3 separate regions of the Homo sapiens genome follow, and all the other regions are linked to region 1. The links are contacts of gene promoters, found by promoter capture Hi-C in human tissues and cell types (Jung and others, 2019). All regions are on one chromosome and are shown on one strand. The core of a region is centred on a gene start or on the middle of the fragment in contact, and the rest is flanking DNA. Distances in the headings are between cores, read along the strand shown.

Region 1 (2,523 bases), core at 15-2,514:
TGTAAAACGCACCAATCAGCGCTCTGTGGCTAGCTAGAGGTTTCTAAAATGGGCCAATCAGCACTCTGTAAAAACACACCAATCAGCTCTCTGTGGCTAGCTAGAGGTTTGTAAAATGGACCAATCAGCACTCTGTAAAATGGACCAATCAGCACACTGTAAAATGGACCAATCAGCACTTGGTAAAATGGACCAATCAGCAGGACATGGGCAGGGACAAATAAGGGAATAAAAGCTGGCCACCCAGTCAACACAGGGAACCCAGTCAGGTCCATTTCTAGGTTGTGGAAGCATTGTTCTTTTGCTCTTCACAATAAATTTTGCTGCTCCTCACTGTTTGGGTCCATGTGACCTTTAAAGCTTTCTTTAACATTTAAGGTCCGTGGCTTCATTCTTGAAGTTAGCGAGATGGAGACCACAAGCCCACTGAAAGGAACCAACTGCAGACACAATGCATGTGAGAAAGACTCAGCCCTATTTTCTGGCTTTGAAGCTGGAGGAAGGAGCCAGGAGCAAAAGAATGAAGACAGTTTCCAGAAGCTGCAAAAGGGCAGGGACAGATTCACTCCAGGAAGCCCCAGAAACAAACACAGTCCTGCTGACACCTTGATTTCAATCCAGTGAGACATATTTTGGACTTCTGACCTACAGAGCTAAAATAATAGTAAGATAATAAAGTTATGTTGCCACCACTGAAAACAGTTTTATTTTGCTTTGGTTTAAGCTAACTGAGCTAATACAGCTGCCGTATTTTATGACACTTGCCTAAGGAAGACTTCCCATCCCTGCACTGCTCCCGGCTAACCAGTCCTTTCTCGGGACTCCTGGAAACCTCCCACTCTCAGAGAGGTGTAGGGTATAAAAATCACAAGCTGATGGCTCAGGATGTAGCAAATAAAAATACAAGACCAAAACGAAACCCAACCGGAACACCGAGTTAAACGTGAATTGACCATGCGATATTTGGGACATACTTAACACTAAAAATTACTGGTTGTGTATCTGAAATTTACCTTTAACTGGGCTCATGTATTTTACCGGGCAACCCTACCCCCCGGTCACAGTGAGACTACACACGGGGTCTTTTGGTCATTTTGCAAGTGTAAAAGACTAACGGGAACACCGGCATTTTTCAAAGCTCGATTTCCAAACCTCCTTTAAACACTTGTCCCCATCCCCTCCCCGCAGGCCTTCAGTCGCTCTGGCACGCGGGCCAGCGCGGGAACACTCTGCGCAGGCGCACAGCGTTCCGCGGGGGACGCTCAGTAGGGTACGGGACGCGCGCGGGGAGACCCTGTGCAGCGACACCGGGGCTGTAGTCGCCGTCTGGAACCAGCGCGGGAATAGGTGCGCAGGCGCACAGTGGCTGGAGGGCAGCGGCGGCGTGGTCTCGGGCCACTTCCAAGCAGAGGGCAGCACCTGTCCCCTCGGAGGCGCTGCCAGCGCCCTCCCTCCTCCTCCGCAGGGCGCGGGACCTCTATTTATATCGCCCAGCCAGCACAGGCCCATATTGGGCAGTGGCCTCAGTCAGGCCCGCTGGCCGCCCTGCCACACGGTAGCGTCCAAGCCAGGTCGTGGCCCAGCGAGTGGGGACGCGCCCCGAACCAGGCAGCACCTTCGTAAGTAGGGGTAGCGCCCCGGGGGAACGCGGCCCCCAGTCACAAGCCCTGCCTCAACTCCGGGCCAGGTTGAACCTGGGCGCCGACCCGGGGCCACCGGCACTTGCAGCCTCGGCTCTAAGTGACTTCCTTCGAGTCGCAGTGGGCCGGCGCCTGGCGTCAGGTGGGGCTCCCAGGAGCTGCTCCTCCAGGCCATCTCTGCCGTCTCCGACCTTCACCGTCGGGTTGTTCAGGCTCGTAGTCTGCATAGTATTATCATCCTCCGAATTACCTGACCAATGTATTATTGTGCCTTCCGTCGCTAGACTGTAAGCACAACAAAGGTAAGGGGCACTTCCCTGTTCCTGGTTGTCTTCCCGGAACCTAGGATAGTGCCTGGCACTTAGAAGGGTTCGTTTAAGTTTAATAAACCCTGAATGTATCCCTGAGCAACTCTCTTAACTTTAAAGCCAGGAGAATAATTGCCCTACATTTTCCCCCAAATGATTCTTAAGAGGAACTAATGAGCTATAATGCGGATTAAAGCACTTTGAAAAGTATAAAGCACTGTGAGAATGCAAAACAGTGTGAACTCGGCAAAGAAAAGAAAAGAAAACTGGTCTTATTTGTCTTTATCATCCATGTGCCTGGCTGTTACTGGATGCCCGGTGTGTGGGATGGATTATTATGAAATGAATCAGGTCTTTTTCCATGCTAGTGAGAAGCACAGAGTACATTTAGGGTGGTGCGTGTGTTCTCAGCCATTTCCTACCAGCCTCTGCAAGCGTAGGATTTTAGCAAGATGGTGTTGCTGAAACAAAATAGGGTGTGGAGACGTAATCGTATAAACTGGGGGTCACAAACTTAAATGGCTGTAGGATAATGTAAATGGACAGGAAAGAGAAAAGCAACAGCGTAAGAATTA
Region 2 (2,523 bases), core at 7-2,506, 230 kb before region 1:
CTGCAGTCTGAGAACTGCCACCCCTCAGGAACTAGGCTGTGTGGTTGTTGGGGCAGCATTCCCCAGCCACACCACACCATTTCTCACTTTATTTTATTTTATTATTTTATTTTATTTTATTTTATTTTTTTGAGACGGAGTCTAGCCCTTTTACCCAGGCTGGAATACAGTGGTGTGATCTCGGCTCACTGCAACCTTTATCTCCCAGGTTCAAATGATTCTCGTGCCTCAGCCTCCAGAGTAGCTGGGGCTACAGGCGCCCACCACCATGCCCAGCTAATTTTCATATTTTTAGTAGAGACATTGTTTCACCATGCTGGCCAGGGTGGTCTCGAACTCCTGACCTCAAGTGATCCGCCCGCCTCAGCCTCCCAAAGTGCTGGGATTACAGGCATGAGCCACTGCACCCGGCCCCATTCCTCACTTTAGCCTCAGGCAGAGAAGACAGCGCGATGGGGAAACACTTATGTAGGAAGGTGTCCAATGCGGTATTGCAAATCAACAGGAAGCATTGCCAGCAGCCGCAGCGAGCAGCAAGTGGGGAAGGAACAGAGAGCATGGATGCGCAGAGCTTCCTGTAACTACGAGGGTGGTCAGTGAAGCTTCTGTGTCCACAAGGAAAAGGTGGAGGACATTCAGGCACTAGGGGGTGCTCCCCAGGCTTATGTGAGAAACCTGTAGCACAGACAGCCACACAGGAGTAGTGAACTACAACCATGGAATTTGAAATTTAGTGTCTAATACTTGGTTCTAAAATTGGGTTGATTTAAATTCAGAAGTGTGCTCTACTCTGACAAATGTTAAAATAGACTAATAGAAGACACATTTTGACACAGAGGCCCTGGGTTTGAGACTCCTCCATCATCCCTAAACCAGAGGAAGAGTTGCTGCGTGAGAGCTGGGGATATTTGATCTGATTTCTGTTTAGTTTCTGTAATGTAGCTGTGCTACCTTTAAAATTAAAAATAAAACAAAACATGTTTATCTCTTTAATTCATTCCCACTCCCAGGTGAAAAAAAAATTTTATTGTTGAATGAAAAATATTTTCATCATGTGTTATTGGAAAAATTATATGTATTCTCTCCCAACTCAAGATACCCACAAATTTTTAACAGACAGAAAAATAGACTGGTGGTTCACGCCTGTAATCCCAGCACTTTGGGAGGCTGAGGCAGGAGGATGGTCTGAGCGCAGGAGTTTGAGACCAGCCTGGGCAGCACACTGAGACTCTGTCTTTCCAAAAAATAAAAAATTAGCCGGGTGTGGTGGCGCGAGCCTGTAGTCCCAGCTACTCTAGAGGCTGAGGTGGGAAGGTAGCTTGAACCCAGGAGGTTGAGGCTGCAGTGAGCTGTGACTGCACCACTGCACTCCAGCCTGGGCAACAGAGTGAGACGCTGTCTCAGAAAAAAAAAAAGAAAAATCAACTGGACAATGACAAAATGAGCAATGATGGAAAGGAAATAAACTCCATTTTGCACAGGAAAGGTAGTATAGGGATGGCTTGTTGACCCACCAGAAGAGGAAGAAGAGTGAAGGTGGGGCTGGGCAACCCTCTACCTAAAGCCCCCAACCGACAGGTGGTCCTCTCCCGCAGCAACTGCTGCTCTGAGGGTCTGCTCCCTGCTGTGGCTGGTCTTGGACGCTGCATCATCTGCTGCTGACCCCTTTAGTGACACCACCCTTGGTTAGGTGCAGCTGTTTCCTGCAGGGCCCCGAATGACCATGCCCTTCACACCTGTGCTCCAGCCATCCTGAGAGTCTCTCAGTTTTGGGGCCGCCCTGAGCTCTCTGCACCTCGAAAACTCCCCCGCAGACCCCTCTGCTGTGCCCCCAACCCCGGCCCGCTCCTGCTCACCTTTGGCTTCTGGAGGGCTGTGCTGGCCCCAGGCTGTGCTGGCGGACACTGGGTGCCCATCGCTGTTAGGCTCTGGGGTGGGAGTCCATGTCGCCCGGGGTCCTTGTTCTGTGAGGGCGGCCCACCTTGTTCTGCCCTGGTCACCGTGCAGCGCTGGGTTCCTCCCAGCGCTGGACACCGTGCCTGGAGCATCACAGGTGCCCAGTAAGGGGCTTGTGATGAGCCTGAGTGTTCATGGAGGAGGCTGGAAAAGCCAACAAATGCAAACATTGTTGGCTCTAGGTTTGATACAGTGAAGTTCCAGGCAGAATTTGGTTGGCCATAAGTAGAGCATGAGGACGTGGAGAGAACGGGCTGTCCTTCAGGTCTGCACACCTTTGGGGGACCTTCTGCACAGAGGCCAGGTGCCACCCACCCAGGGCCTGAGTGGTTTGCAGGGTCCAGTGCAAAACAGCACGTGGGGACCTTGCTCAAAGAGCATTAAGAATTTCCAGAGAGCAACAGTAGAGCACTCACCCAAACGCACGGACCTTCTAGGGTGGGGTCTGGGCCTCTGCATGGGTGGCCAGGCTGCGAGGCCAACCCTGCTTCCACACCCAGTTCCCAGCTCAGTGCCTGGCTCAGATAAAGCCTTCCTGCCTCCTTCCTCCCTCTTTCCATCCCTCTC
Region 3 (2,523 bases), core at 10-2,509, 150 kb before region 1:
CCACTACCATACTCACAGCCCTCATATCTAGAGATGGTTCCTTTCAGTTCAGCATATGGAGTCTCTGGGTAAAACTCTGCTAGAAAGAGTTGGATTGTCAGGCCAGGAGCGGTGGCTTATGCCTGTAATCCCGGCACTTTGGGAGGCTGAGGTGGGCAGATCACCTGATGCCAGGAGTTTGAGGCCAGCTTGGCCAACATGGTGAAACCCCGTCTTTACTAAAAATAAAAAATTAGCCAGGCGTGGTGGTGTGCACCTGTAATCCCAGCTACTCAGGAGGCTGAGGCAGGAGAATTGCTTGAACCTAGGAGGAGGAGGTTGCAGTGAGCTGAGATCATGCCATTGCACTCCAGCCTGGGCAACACAGCAAGACTCTATCTCAAAAAAAAAGAAAAAAAAAAGAATTGGATTGTCTTTGACCATAAGCTTCCTACAAATCAATTTTTAAACAACTGGCATTTCAAAAGTTCAACTAACCTGCATCACCTAGACGCTGCCCTCACTTAGTGCCATAGTCCACACTAAAACCCTGTGACGGAGGTAGTGCATCCTCCCCACTTCTCAGATGAAGATGGCAAGGCCCAGGGAGGCTGGTGAGGGGGAGGCTGCCATCAGAGCTGAGGTCTTCTCCAGGTCCAGGGAGTACTGGACCCTGAGCTGCCAGCCCGGGTGGCTTAGCCCTGAGGGACTGAACATATTTAAGTAGCAAGTGAGCTCCAAGAGGCTGCAAGCTGATGTCTGTTTGGTTCAGCATTTCCCCAGTGCCCAGACAGTGCAGGCACATAGTGAGTTTCAATAAATACTTGCTGAGTGGAGGGAGAGCAGAGCAGCCTCCCTGCCTCCACCCCACAACACCCCACCCCCGAAGCCCCGTCAGAGTGCTGGGGGGTCTGTCCTGAGGATGGAGCGGGGCTCCTGTGAGTGCTCAGCTCAGTGACCGGCGCGCGCCATGGCTGCTTTCTTCTTCCACCTGTCATCTCGACATCAGCCTGCCCTTCCCCAGGCCGCTCTGCTGCAACAGCAATAAGGTGCCTCTCTTCATAACTATCCTCCCTTGTAACTCGCAAAGAGCTTTCATACCTAGTTTCTCATTTAGAATCAGAGAATTCTAGAAGTGGAAGAAACTTCCTAAATCCTCAATCTCCTGGGCTCAAGTGATCTTTCCACCTCAGCCTCCCAAGTAGCGGGGACAGGTGCACGCCACTGCACCCAGCTAATTTTTGTATTATTTTTGTAGAGACAGAGTCACATCCTATTGCCCAGACTGGTCTCAAACTCCTGGCCTCAAGCGATCCTCCCACCTCAGCCTCCCACAGTGCTGGGATTACAGATGTGAACCACTGTAATCCCACTGTAATGCCTCACCCTGAAACATTTTTTTTAAGTGAATCCTTTAATCAAATGAAATATTGTACAGAAAAAGAGCTGAATGGCCCTGCATAAGGTGGGAAAGAATGCAGTGCTCAGCCCTCTAGGTTTCTGGGACCCTCCCCACAGCCCCTTGGAGGATATAGGCTCCCCAGGGCAGTTGGAACTTCCCTCATCCACTCCAGGTCTCTTCACCTTTCAGAAAGAACCGAGATGGCAGGAGGGAGAGTGTCATGCCCAAGCCGTGGCATGGGTTGGTCAAAGAACTAAGGCGTGAGGGCCAGGTGCAGCTGCATAGAGGGAGTCCCGTAAATGAACAGTGAATATCTAAGAATATGGAATAGTCTCCAGGAGGCAGGGCTGTACGGAGCAAAACCAGGCCACAAAACCCTGTTGGAGTCTTTAAACATCTTTAACCACTTGGCCTGTGATCCAAGGTCAGAGGATCAGTGACTTGCCCAAGGTCACAAGGCTGGGTGTCCAGGGTCACAAGGGTGAGTGCCAAGGGTCACAGGCTGAGAGCTCAAGGTCACAAGGCTGAGCACCCAAGGTTATAAGGCTGGGTACTCAAGGTCACAAGGGTGAGCGTCGAGGTCATAAGGCTGGGAGCCCAGGAAAGGCTAGGTATCTAGGGTCACAGGCAAGGTGCCCAGGGTCACAAGGATGTGTGTCCAAGGTCACAAGACTGAATGATTTACCAATTTCCTCTTTCTCTTTATGCTGCTTGTCCCTGATTAGGCCCCAGAAGCCTGCTTAAACCCCCATCTGCCTATGTCTCAACCCTACAATTTGTGCTAACCAAGCCCATGTAAGCAGGAACCACAACTGCTCATTGCCTCAGGCAGTTACCCTCCCAATCCTGCCTCCTTGAAAGCCTGGCTCCTGCACCAACAGGAGCAGAGGCAGCTGCTCTCTGCTCACCGTGAGCTTCGTGGACCCAGCGACCATCCTCCCTCTGGTCCTGCTCATCACAAGGCAACCCTTTACTATTTCTGTCTTCCTCCAGTTATGCATTTTATTTTATTTTTTGCGATAGGGTCTCGCTCTGTCGCCCAGGTTGGAGTGCAGTGGTGAAATCACAGCTCACTGCAGCCTTGACCTCCTGGGTTCAAGCGATCCCAAGTAGCTCCTGCCTCAGTCTCCCAAGTAGCTGAG

Evidence for each region. Contacts are between HindIII fragments. The study calls those that stand out against the background at their distance.
Region 2: a fragment that was not itself captured here is called in contact with the fragment with the promoter of KBTBD12 in region 1 in 1 of the 25 tissues and cell types used here (hippocampus).
Region 3: a fragment that was not itself captured here is called in contact with the fragment with the promoter of KBTBD12 in region 1 in 1 of the 25 tissues and cell types used here (spleen).

Annotation. Positions count from the first base shown.
Region 1 is chr3:127,913,968-127,916,490 of GRCh38, forward strand. It overlaps KBTBD12 (kelch repeat and BTB domain containing 12), which reads left to right and starts at 1,265. Exons shown (of 6, transcript NM_207335.4): 1 at 1,265-1,619. The region is part of intron 3 of LOC107986129 (a long non-coding RNA gene); the gene reads right to left. It overlaps LOC124909427 (a long non-coding RNA gene), which reads left to right. Exons shown (of 2, transcript XR_007096071.1): 2 at 379-699. The HindIII fragment of the contact is 11,252 bases long and covers 1-2,523 here.
Region 2 is chr3:127,683,285-127,685,807 of GRCh38, forward strand. No RefSeq gene overlaps it. Among named protein-coding and RNA genes, the nearest start is that of ABTB1, 12 kb to the left of the region's middle. RefSeq lists enhancers at 1-12, 1,819-1,928, 2,319-2,448. The HindIII fragment of the contact is 4,293 bases long and covers 1-2,523 here.
Region 3 is chr3:127,768,970-127,771,492 of GRCh38, forward strand. All of the region lies in intron 3 of MGLL (monoglyceride lipase), which reads right to left. Among named protein-coding and RNA genes, the nearest start is that of MGLL, 52 kb to the right of the region's middle. The HindIII fragment of the contact is 6,453 bases long and covers 1-2,523 here.